Linked DNA regions of Homo sapiens: region 2 is linked to region 1. Evidence: promoter capture Hi-C in 16 types of primary human blood cells and fetal thymus (Javierre and others, 2016). All regions are on one chromosome and are shown on one strand. The core of a region is centred on a gene start or on the middle of the fragment in contact, and the rest is flanking DNA. Distances in the headings are between cores, read along the strand shown.

Evidence for each region. Contacts are between HindIII fragments. The CHiCAGO score rates a contact against its expected background, and 5 or more counts as called.
Region 2: a fragment that was not itself captured here is called in contact with the fragment with the promoter of C19orf12 in region 1 in 1 of 17 cell types (activated CD4 T cells); the score reaches 5.1 in activated CD4 T cells.

What each region holds. Positions count from the first base shown.
Region 1 is chr19:29,714,011-29,717,707 of GRCh38, reverse strand. C19orf12 (chromosome 19 open reading frame 12) reads left to right here and starts at 2,447. Exons shown (of 3, transcript NM_031448.6): 1 at 2,447-2,583. RefSeq lists enhancers at 1,088-1,307, 1,853-1,952 and a silencer at 2,123-2,912. The HindIII fragment of the contact is 2,629 bases long and covers 1,161-3,697 here.
Region 2 is chr19:33,174,133-33,180,131 of GRCh38, reverse strand. It overlaps TRT-AGT1-3 (tRNA-Thr (anticodon AGT) 1-3), which reads right to left and starts at 3,075; the gene lies at 3,002-3,075. It overlaps LOC124904691 (a long non-coding RNA gene), which reads left to right and starts at 3,254. Exons shown (of 2, transcript XR_007067228.1): 1 at 3,254-5,932. It overlaps WDR88 (WD repeat domain 88), which reads right to left. Exons shown (of 11, transcript NM_173479.4): 11 at 4,333-4,736. The coding sequence ends at 4,560. RefSeq lists enhancers at 2,356-2,475, 2,486-2,545, 3,636-3,705, 3,418-4,182 and silencers at 2,716-3,075, 3,276-3,435. The HindIII fragment of the contact is 1,280 bases long and covers 1,939-3,218 here.

The DNA of each region.
Region 1 (3,697 bases), core at 1,198-3,697:
GAGCTGGTGCACTCAGCTTTGGGAGAAAGTGAGGGCATAGAACGCTGGCCCCGTCTGAGTTTTGACTCTGGCTGGCCGTGTGAACACCACCTAGCACCCTAGGGCATTGTTGGGCCCATCAGCAAGAGAATGTTTTGTCAAGGTGGGGGTAGAACTGGATTTCCCACTACCTTGGGCCCATGAGGCTCATGGGACTTTGGAGAAGCCGCTCATTTTCACATTCTGTAATGTAAACAAGAATAATCTAGATTCATATATATTACCTCCTTTTATGTTGAGAACAACCCTATAGGATAAGTACTACTCTTGTTGCCATTTCCCAGATGAGGAAACTGAGGCACGGAGACGTGGAAGAACTTTCCCTAGGTCACTGTAAGCAGCATAAAGCATCGCTGTGTGCTGGGCCAGTGCCATTTCCGCGCCACCACCGAGACCCCACGGCACGCCTTGCTCACTGTGCAGGAGGCCGCAGTTGCCTTTAGGAGCATGAGGCACTGTGTGCTCCATCTCTGGGGTTCAGAGTGTGCGGTCATGTTATGCCTGCATTCGTATCAGAATGAGGCCCAGGAGGCTGATGGGTTGCAGATTTGCATGCAATGGCGCGATCTCGGCTCACTGCAACCTCCATCTGCCGGGTCCAAGCGGTTCTCCTGCCTCAACCTCCCGAGTAGCTGGGACTACAGGCTTGCACCAACCATGTCTGGCTCATTTTTCCATGTTTAGTGGAGATGGGGTTTCACCATGTTGCCCAGGCTGGTCTCAAAGTCCTGGCCTCAGGTGATCTGCCCGCCTCGGCCTCCCAAAGTGCTGGGATTACAGGTGTGAGCCACCGCGCTGGGCTGCATGAACCTCTTACATGCTTGCCTTCTCTGGAGGGCCTGGACTTTGAAGCTTCTTTCACTCCCAGCATCTTTCCCTACACAGGCCCTCTTCCCCACTATCTCTGGGGGAGGAGTCTGCAGGCCAGTTCTGCAATGTGCCGCCAGAGGGAGCTGCCCGCAGAGAAACGGGAGCGCCACACTCAGGCCCCAGGAAGGCAGCAAGCTGAGTTCCCCTGGCCTCAGTTCACTTTCCCTCTTGAAAGTCACCCAAACTCAAGCAAAAGCTCCGATTCAGGAATAAATGGGGTTGTTTTATCCCAGCCAAGGCCTGGGGAAGCTTGGTATTAAGAGCGTTTGTTCCATTCTTTTAAAAATGGAAAAGGGTCCGTCCTCTGGGTGCCCATGGCACCCTGGAAAGCAGGCAGAGTGCTGGTCACAGGCGGAGACTTTGAGATACCGAGACCGAGGCTGGAGTTTGGGCCCTGAAACTTTCTAACCAGGATGGCCTTGGGCAGAGCAGCCTGTGTTTAGAGCTTCCCATCTGTAATATAGCAGTGACAACCATGCCTGCTTTGCAGGGTTCCTGTTAGGATTAATTCTCTATAGAGCCCCCCAGAAGCCACTTTTGGATTTGAGATGGTTCAAGGCCAGACCTTGCATGACAAGAGTAGGGACAGCTTTCCACAGGCCTCAATAAAGTAGTATTCCCAGGCAGTTCTGCAACCCCAGCCTCATGCCCTTTGCACCTTCCTAAGAGGCTGCCTTGCCTCAGCTTTGGTCCCCATCCAAGACTCCTAAGAGCAAAGCCAGTTCTTTTCCTTTTTTTTCTTTCTTTAAGAGACGGTCTCACTCTGTCACCCAGGTTGAAGTGCAGTGGTGGGATCATAGTTCACTGCAGCCTCGAACTCCTGGGCTCAAGCAATCCTCCCGCTTCAGCCTCCCAAAATGCTGTAGGTCACAGGTATGACTCACCCACCCGGCCTAATTTTTATTATTATTTGTAGAGATGGGATGTCACTGTGTTGCCCACGCTCGAACTGCTGGGCTCAAGCAATCCTCCCTCCTCAGCCTCACTGGCAGCTGGGATTACGAGTCCCACCCAACCTGCTTCTCCTTTTGCAACCCCCAGACCCAGAGGCTCCAGAGCAGGCTCTGGAACAGAGGAAATCTGGCTCCGGCCCACACATTCACCAAATACTGACGCAGCACCCTTGACCTCCAGATGCCCCTGTGCTCTCTTCTGTGCCCAGGCTGCGGGGAGAGAGGGGTCCTCCAGGCCAAAGGGAGGGAGGTCTCCGGGAGGTCCCCGCGGTCCTGGAGGCAGGTGCGCGGGGCCCGGATGTGATCATGCGTGCGCGTGGGAGAAAGGCAGGGCTGGGCCTGCGGGAGCGCGGCCTTGCGGTTCCCAGGACTCTTCTCCGGGCGCCTCGTCTCCTTACGCCACCCGCAACCCAAGCCAGGGCCCCGGTGACAGCGGCGGGGTGGGCCAGGACCGGGGAGGGGGTGCCCAGCAGCGACCCCCGGCTCCCCCTAAGGCCGGGCGCAGCTCGGAGCCAGGAGCTGGCCCGGCGCGTGGCTTCCCGGAAGGCCCGGCGCAGCCGGAAGGTGGGACGGAGGGCGGGGCCAGCGCCGGGGCCGCCACCAAGGCCTGCGCGACCCTCCGCGGGGCTGGGGAGCTGGGCGGGGAGCCCGGGGCCTGCCAGGCCCGGGCTGCAGCCGCGTCTGATCGCCGAGCGCGCCGCGTAGACCTCCGCTCCCCCAGGTAAAGGAGCGCCCGGAGCCGGGGCGGGGCGCCTCCCAGGCCGCGCCCCGCGAGAGGAGGGGGCACCCCAAGAGCAGGCCTGGAGACCCGGGAGTGCCTTGGGGAGAGGGTCCCCGCCCTGCCGGGAGCCCGGCCCTCCCGGTGCCGGGGTGGACACTGTTAGTGTAGTCATTGTCCCTATGGAGAAACTGAGGCATGGAGAGGCTGAAGTCACACAAGTAAGCAGCAGAGCTGGGACTAGAGTCCCGGGCCCTGGCTCGCTGTCACCCAGGAGTGGCGTAGGCATGGGTGTGGTGGGTGGGGGTGGGGTGCGGGTGGTGGATGTGGTGGGAGTGGGTGAGGTTGGGTGGGGTGGGGATGTGGGTTTGGCGGGGGTGGGGTGCGGAATGTGATGGGTAGGGGTGGGGTAGAGTGGGGGTGGCTGGTGGGGCAGGGGCGGGGCTGGGGGTGGGGTGCTAGGTATTATAAATGTGAAGCGGATCCTGACAGGACACCTGTGGGGCAGCGGAGCTGGGCTGAGCCATATGGGAAGAAAATCTGGGCGCTAGTTTAGATTTGGTCAGGAAGGGTCGTTAATGCTTTAGGAGGTGAGATTAGTTTTGGGGATGGCAGGTAGTTTGTTGAGCTTTTGTTTAGACAGTCTTGCTCTGTTGTCCAGGCTGGAGTGCAATGGCGCGATCTCGGCTCACTGCAACCTCCACCTCCCTCGTTCAAGCAATTCCCCTGCCTCAGCCTCCCTAGTAGCTGGGATTACAGGCGACACCACCAAGCCTGGCTAATTTTTTTGTATTTTTAGTAGAGACGGAGTTTCACCATATCGGCCAGGCTAATCTCAAACTCCTGACCTTGCGATCCACCTGCCTCAGCCTTCTGCAATGCTGGGATTACAGACGTGAGCCACCCCGACCAATTTTTGTATTTTTTAGTAGAGACGGGGTTTCACCATCTTGGAATAGCACCTGTAGTTCCAGCTACTCGGGAGGCCGAGGCGGAAGAATTGCTTGAGGCCAGTTCCCGACCAGCCTAGGCAACACAGGGAGACTGCGTTTCTGGAAAAAACAACAACAACACCAGCAACAACAAAAAGCAGGAAGGAAGGGGAGAGGGAAAGAGA
Region 2 (5,999 bases), core at 1,329-3,828, 3.5 Mb before region 1:
CTCTTGCATGTAATCCCAGCATTTTGGGAGGCCGAGGCAGGCAGATCTCTTGATGCGAGGAGTCGGAGACCAACCTGGGCAACATGGTGAAACCCTGCCTCTACTAAAAATACAAAAATTAGCCAGGCGTGGTAGCACACGCCTGTAATCCCAGCTACCTGGGTGGCTGAGGCAGGAGAATTGCTTGAACCTGGGAGGTGGAGGTTGCAGTGAGTCAAGATCGCACCACTGCACTCCAGTCTGGGCAATAAGAGTGAAACTGCTTCTCAAAAAAAAAAAAAATCTACTTATAATGGTATCAAAAAAAGAAAATACTTAGAAATGTGCTTAACAAAAGAGGTGTAAAACTTATGCTCTGAAAACTAAAAACCTTGTTGAAAGAAATTAAAGAAGACCTAAATAAATTGAAAGCCATTCCATGTTCATGGATTAGAAAACTTAACATTATTAAGATAACAATATCCCCCCAAATGATTTATTTCTATCAAATGCAATTTCTATCAAAATCCCAACTGGATTGTTTGCAGAAATTTACAGGCTGATTCTAAAACTCATGGAAATTCAACAGACCCAGAATAGCCAGAACAATCTTGAAAATAACAACTTTGAAGTCCTCATACGTCCCAATTTGAAAATTTAGTACACAGCTATAGTTATCAAGAGTGTGGCACAGGCATAAAGCTAGACATGTAGATTAAGGTACTAGAATTAGAAAACCACAAATAAGCCCTCATATTTATGGTCAATTGATTTTCCACAAGGGTGCCAAGACCTTTGGGAACAGAATAGTCTTTTCAACAAATGGCGTTTGGATGAATGAAAATCCACATGCAAAAGAATGAAGCTGGACCCCTCCTTCACATCATATACAAAATTGACTCAAAGTAGATCCAAAACTTAAATGTAAGAGCAAAAGCTATAAAACCCTTATAAGAAAACATTAGTGTAAATCTTTATGACCTTGAACTTGGCAATGGAGTCTTGAATATGACATCAAAAGCATAAGCAAAAAGGAAAAGTAGATACATTAGACTTGATCAATATTGAAACGTTTGCACTTCTAATGACAGTATTAAGAAAGCAAAGAAGGCCGGGCACGGTGGTTCACACCTGTAATCCCAGCACTTTGGGAGGCCAAGGCAGGCGGATCAAGAGGTCAAGAGATCGAGACCATCCTGGCCAACATGGTGAAACCCCGTCTCTACCAAAAATACAAAAATTAGTTGGGCGTGGTGGCACGCGCCTGTAGTCCCAGCTACTTGGGAGGCTGAGGCAGGAGAATCGCTTGAACCCGGGAGGTGGAGGTTGCCGTGGGCAGAGATCACACCACTGCACTCCATCCTGGTGACACAGTGAGACTCTGTCTCAAAAAAAAAAAAATGCGGTGGCTCACACCTGTAATCCCCACACTTTGGGAGGCTGAGGTGGGCGGGGCGGATCACCTGAGGTCAGGAATTCGAGACCAGCCTGGCCAACATGATGAAACCTCGTCTCTACTAAAAATGCAAAAATTAGCCGGGCGTGGTGATGTGCACCTGTAATCCCAGCTACTCGGGAGGCTGAGACAGGAGAATCGCTTGAACCGGGGAGGCGGAGGTTGCAGTGAGCAGAGATCACACCACTGCACTCCAGCCTGGGCGACAAAGACTCCATCTCAGTAAATAAATAAATAAATAAATAAATAAATAGCAAAGAGAAAAGGAAACGGAGAAAAGATTTCAAACCCTGTATCCAATGAGGGACTTTTTAATTTTTATTTTTTCTTCGAGATGGAATCTCGCTCTGTCGCCCAGGCTGGATTGCAGTGGCGTAAGTATGAGCCAGAAATAAACCAGCTCCACAATGACGCAAGCCCAGTTTCCAATAAATTCATCCCTAATTGGATCCAGGTGAACGCTCCTATCAGCACTGCAAAACGTCAAAGTCTCCTTACAAGCTTTCCTAGGCAATGTCAGTCAAAAACAACCAAGATACAAAAGCGCGAGAATTGACTAGAAAACGACAGAAATAAACAAACAAACAAAAACAATAAACCCAGATCCATAGAAGAGGCAGGAAGAGGAACTGCTTCTGGGGCAGGTGAATTTGACTACACAGCCTATGCCATGACTGCAATTTCTGCACTGGGACTGTCCTGTCGGGTTTGACATGTGAATCCCTGGAGAATGTTTGTAAAAACTCCAATGCCTCACCCCACCCTACCCCACCACCCCCAAAGCCTCGAATGCACTTGCTCAGGAATAGGTTCCCACATACAAATGTGGGTAGAACCCCAGCGCTGAGCAACCAACCCCAGCCCAGGCAGCTGGCTTCAGCCCACACCCGGCCGTCTGCAGCTGGGGCAGAGTCCCCTGCCTGGCCTGGAGTTTCCACGCAGTCATCGGACTGAGGATCACGCTAACCGGACTCAGTCCCGCATCCCTCCACACGGGGTCCCCTTGGCCTCGCCGCCGGTCCAGGTCTTGCATTTGTGAAAAGGCTGCACCCACTGCGCGGCTGCAGGGAGACGGGCAATCTTCAGGCCTTTGCGAGGCTCAGCTAAGCCCGGCGAACGTCGAGGATCGGCACCCGCGTGGGCTCCCCCAAGTGGCAGCTTGGAGCCAGGAAGACTAGCGCGAGGAACCCACGCCACAGAAGGCGGCGTGGGAGAGCGCGTCCACCGCCCGCCCTGAGGAAGCAGCCTCGGGGCGAACACCGGCTCCTCGCTGGACTCGCACAGCTGCTTCCCAGCCCGCCGCTCGCCTCCCACGGCCAGCCAGCACCATGGCAACCGCGGTCGCCTGGGTCCCCGCGCCGCCTACGCCCCACAGAGCCTGAGACCCGAGAAGGTGGAGTCCGAAGCCCGCCTGCACCCGCCCCCGTGGCCGAGGCCACGCCCCGTTGGGGGGCCCGTCTACCTAGGCCTCTCGGGATCCCGCTCACACCCTCATAGTATCGGGCAGCCGGGTACAGAGCACAAAAGTGCAGGAGCAAAAATGGAAAGAGCTTGGACGCTCGGTTGAGGCACCGCTGGGATTCGAACCCAGGATCTCCTGTTTACTAGACAGGCGCTTTAACCAACTAAGCCACGGCGCCACCCGTACAGGTACTTTCCTAAACTATTCTTCATTACTATTTACCATATGGGCCGCGCGCATGCGCACACATTCGGCCTGTTGTGGCGCACGCGTAGTGTAGCTTCCGATTCACACAGGCAGCTGAGACTGAGACCGGAAGCTTGGGCTGCACGGAGCGGGCGGAGCCTGGGAAGGCCAGACTTCCTGGTCACGGTAATGTCTCTTCCAACGTGGAGCCAGGACGCTCCGCCTTTGGGGAACGCTGGTGCAGGGCTTGGGACTCAGGGCAGTGCGGTCGAGCCCCTACCCACTCCGGAGAACCCCCGGCCCCGCCAGCGCGGCCGGGCTGCTGGCTCCCCTGGCGTCCGGTCGAGGCGCACACCCGCCTCGGTCCGACTGTGACCCCGGTGAGCTTCGGACCATTCTGCCCCGCGACCTCAGCCTGAGAAGACCCGGGGCCCTGCCAGCTCCCGGGACTATAACTTCAGTTGAGTCGCTACTTCCGCGGATCCTGAGCTGGGGGAAAGTCGAGGGGTCCGGAAGGCTCAGGAGGGATCGTGGACTTCAGGGTTCCCAGGCTGCTGGCGTGGAGCACCAACACCTTACATGGAGGGGTTTCTGCTGCCAGAGCAGGCAAGGCCCTCCCCTCCCTAGTTTCTCACTGACCCCTTCTGGGTGTCCTCACGCAACTACACCAGCCACTGGTCTCCGCACTTTCCAGAGGGCCTGTGGGCAACTACGAAGCCGAACACTGCCAACCCATCCACCCAGCATCCCTGCAGCATGCACAGAAAGGTTCACCCAGCATGGTGTGCAATAGGAAACTAAGCTCCTATCTCAGCCTATTTCTGGATTGATGCACGCTGTGCAAAATGCCGTGGCAGCAGGAAGAGGGCTGCACATAAGCAAGGGGTTCTGGAAATTAAGACGTCTAGAGGAGAAAGCGTGAGACATCCCGTGATGGCAATGCCACCGCCACCCCCTTGCCTAACCAAACCGTCCTCTGCTCCGGGCAAGTGGCCATCTGGGAGCATTAGCCAGGGAGGCACTCATTGTGTCTTGCCATCACGTCCACAGAGGGGGCCCCACACCTTGTCATACTCATTTGACAAACTCTCCAGAACTGCTGGTGCCAGCCCCCACAGGTCACCTTACAGGGCAACTCCAGACTCCACAATGTGAGTCTAATATGTGTTCCAAGAATCAAACAGGATGAGCACCAAGACATAAAGCTTAGAAATAGCAAGACTGCTTTTCAGATGCACATGCACGCTTGTTTTCCAAAGGAATTAGATTTATTCTGCATGAAAACGGAAAGTGTTCACTCCCCAAGCTGAGAGCTGAGGAGGTGGCACTGTGCTGAGTCCAGCCAGGGCTTGGGTCCTGCCCCAGTCTGACAGGCCTGCTGAGCCTGGGAGGGGCCCAAGAGAAAGCCCCTGCAAAGCCCCGAAACCTACATGCTAGGTAGCCTGTGCTGGAGTCACTCAAAGGGGCCTGTGGCTGTCAGTCATCCTTGCTTCCCCTTGGCGGCGGTGAGTTCTCCCTTTCCGATGATGATGATGACGATGAAGTATCTGCTGGCAAGCCCCTTGTATCTATCCGGCAGAACACGCATTGGGTGAACATTTCAGAAGAGGTGTCACTCTTGAAGATGGAGAAAGGCCTGTCACATCTTTCGCACTGACATGGGATATTTTAAAAGAGCAGAAAGGAGGTGCTGGTCAGAGGTGATCCAGGCATGCCATTAGAATTCTCCCAGCTACCTTGAGCTGGGGCAAGGCAAGGGTTCCCCTCTCTGGAATCTCTTTTTGGTTTGTTTGTTTGTTTTTGTTTTTGTTTTTGAGACAGAGTCTCACTTTGTTGCCCAGGCTGGAGTGCAGTGGCACCATCTAGGCTTACTGCAACCTCCGCCTCCCAGGTTCAAGCAATTCTCCTGCCTCAGCCACCCGAGTAGCTGGGATTACAGGCGTGCACCACCACATCCTGCTAATTTTTGTATTTTTAGTAGAGATGGGGTTTCTCCATGTTGGCCAGGCTGGTCTTGAACTCCTGGCCTCAAGTGATCCACCCACCTTGGCAGCCCAGAGTGCTGGGATTACAGGCGTGAGCCACTGGGCGCAGCCCCTCTCTGGAATCTCTAACCCCACAAAGGCGGAAATTGCAGAGAGAATGAGCACAGGCTGCTTCCCCACCAATGGCTAAGCAGGTCCTGCCAGCTCATGTCTCCTGCCAGCTCATGTCTCCTGCCAGCTCATGTCTCCTGCCATGGGGGTCCTGAGGACATGCGTGGCAAGCCCCTTGACAGTTGGGAGGATGGGGGTGAGTGTCCCGCCCCATCCATTGTTCTGTGCCGAGTAAAATTGTGGGACTAAGAGGATGACTCCCTGACATCCTGAGAACACCCAACTTTTACAGAACCATGAGACGCAAGTAGGCAAGATTTCTGAACAAAGCAGGGGTGTGAAGCAGATTGATGCAGGTGCTAGGTGCCCTCCTGCGTCCCTGAGCCTGTTTCTGGCCAAAGCTCACAGAGTACACTGAAAACAAATGGCACAGCTCACCCATCACGTCTGCTTCCCACTAACAAGCAAGAGTGCCATGGGATGAGGTCTCCTAGGCCATGGGCAGAGGCCCCTCAGGGGTTCCCACCATGCATGGTCCCCTGGAGAAGAGCCTGCAAGGTGGCCGCGCCCCTGCCCTGGCTCTCCCAGCCCCTGGGCTTTGCTGTTCTGCCCACTCCAGGACACTGAGGCCTGCTGGAGAGGGGGGTAAACCCTACCTGGGGCAGGCCTCGGGGAAGCCTGGCCTCAGGCTTCTCATGTTGATTGATTCAGAGCAAGTCAAATGCAGCAGGCTCATCCTTGCTTCAGCTTCAGGTAGGCCTCTTTCTTTTCCTTTTTTGCAAGAAATAGATTAGATCCCAGTTTGGGTGCGGATAGCTTG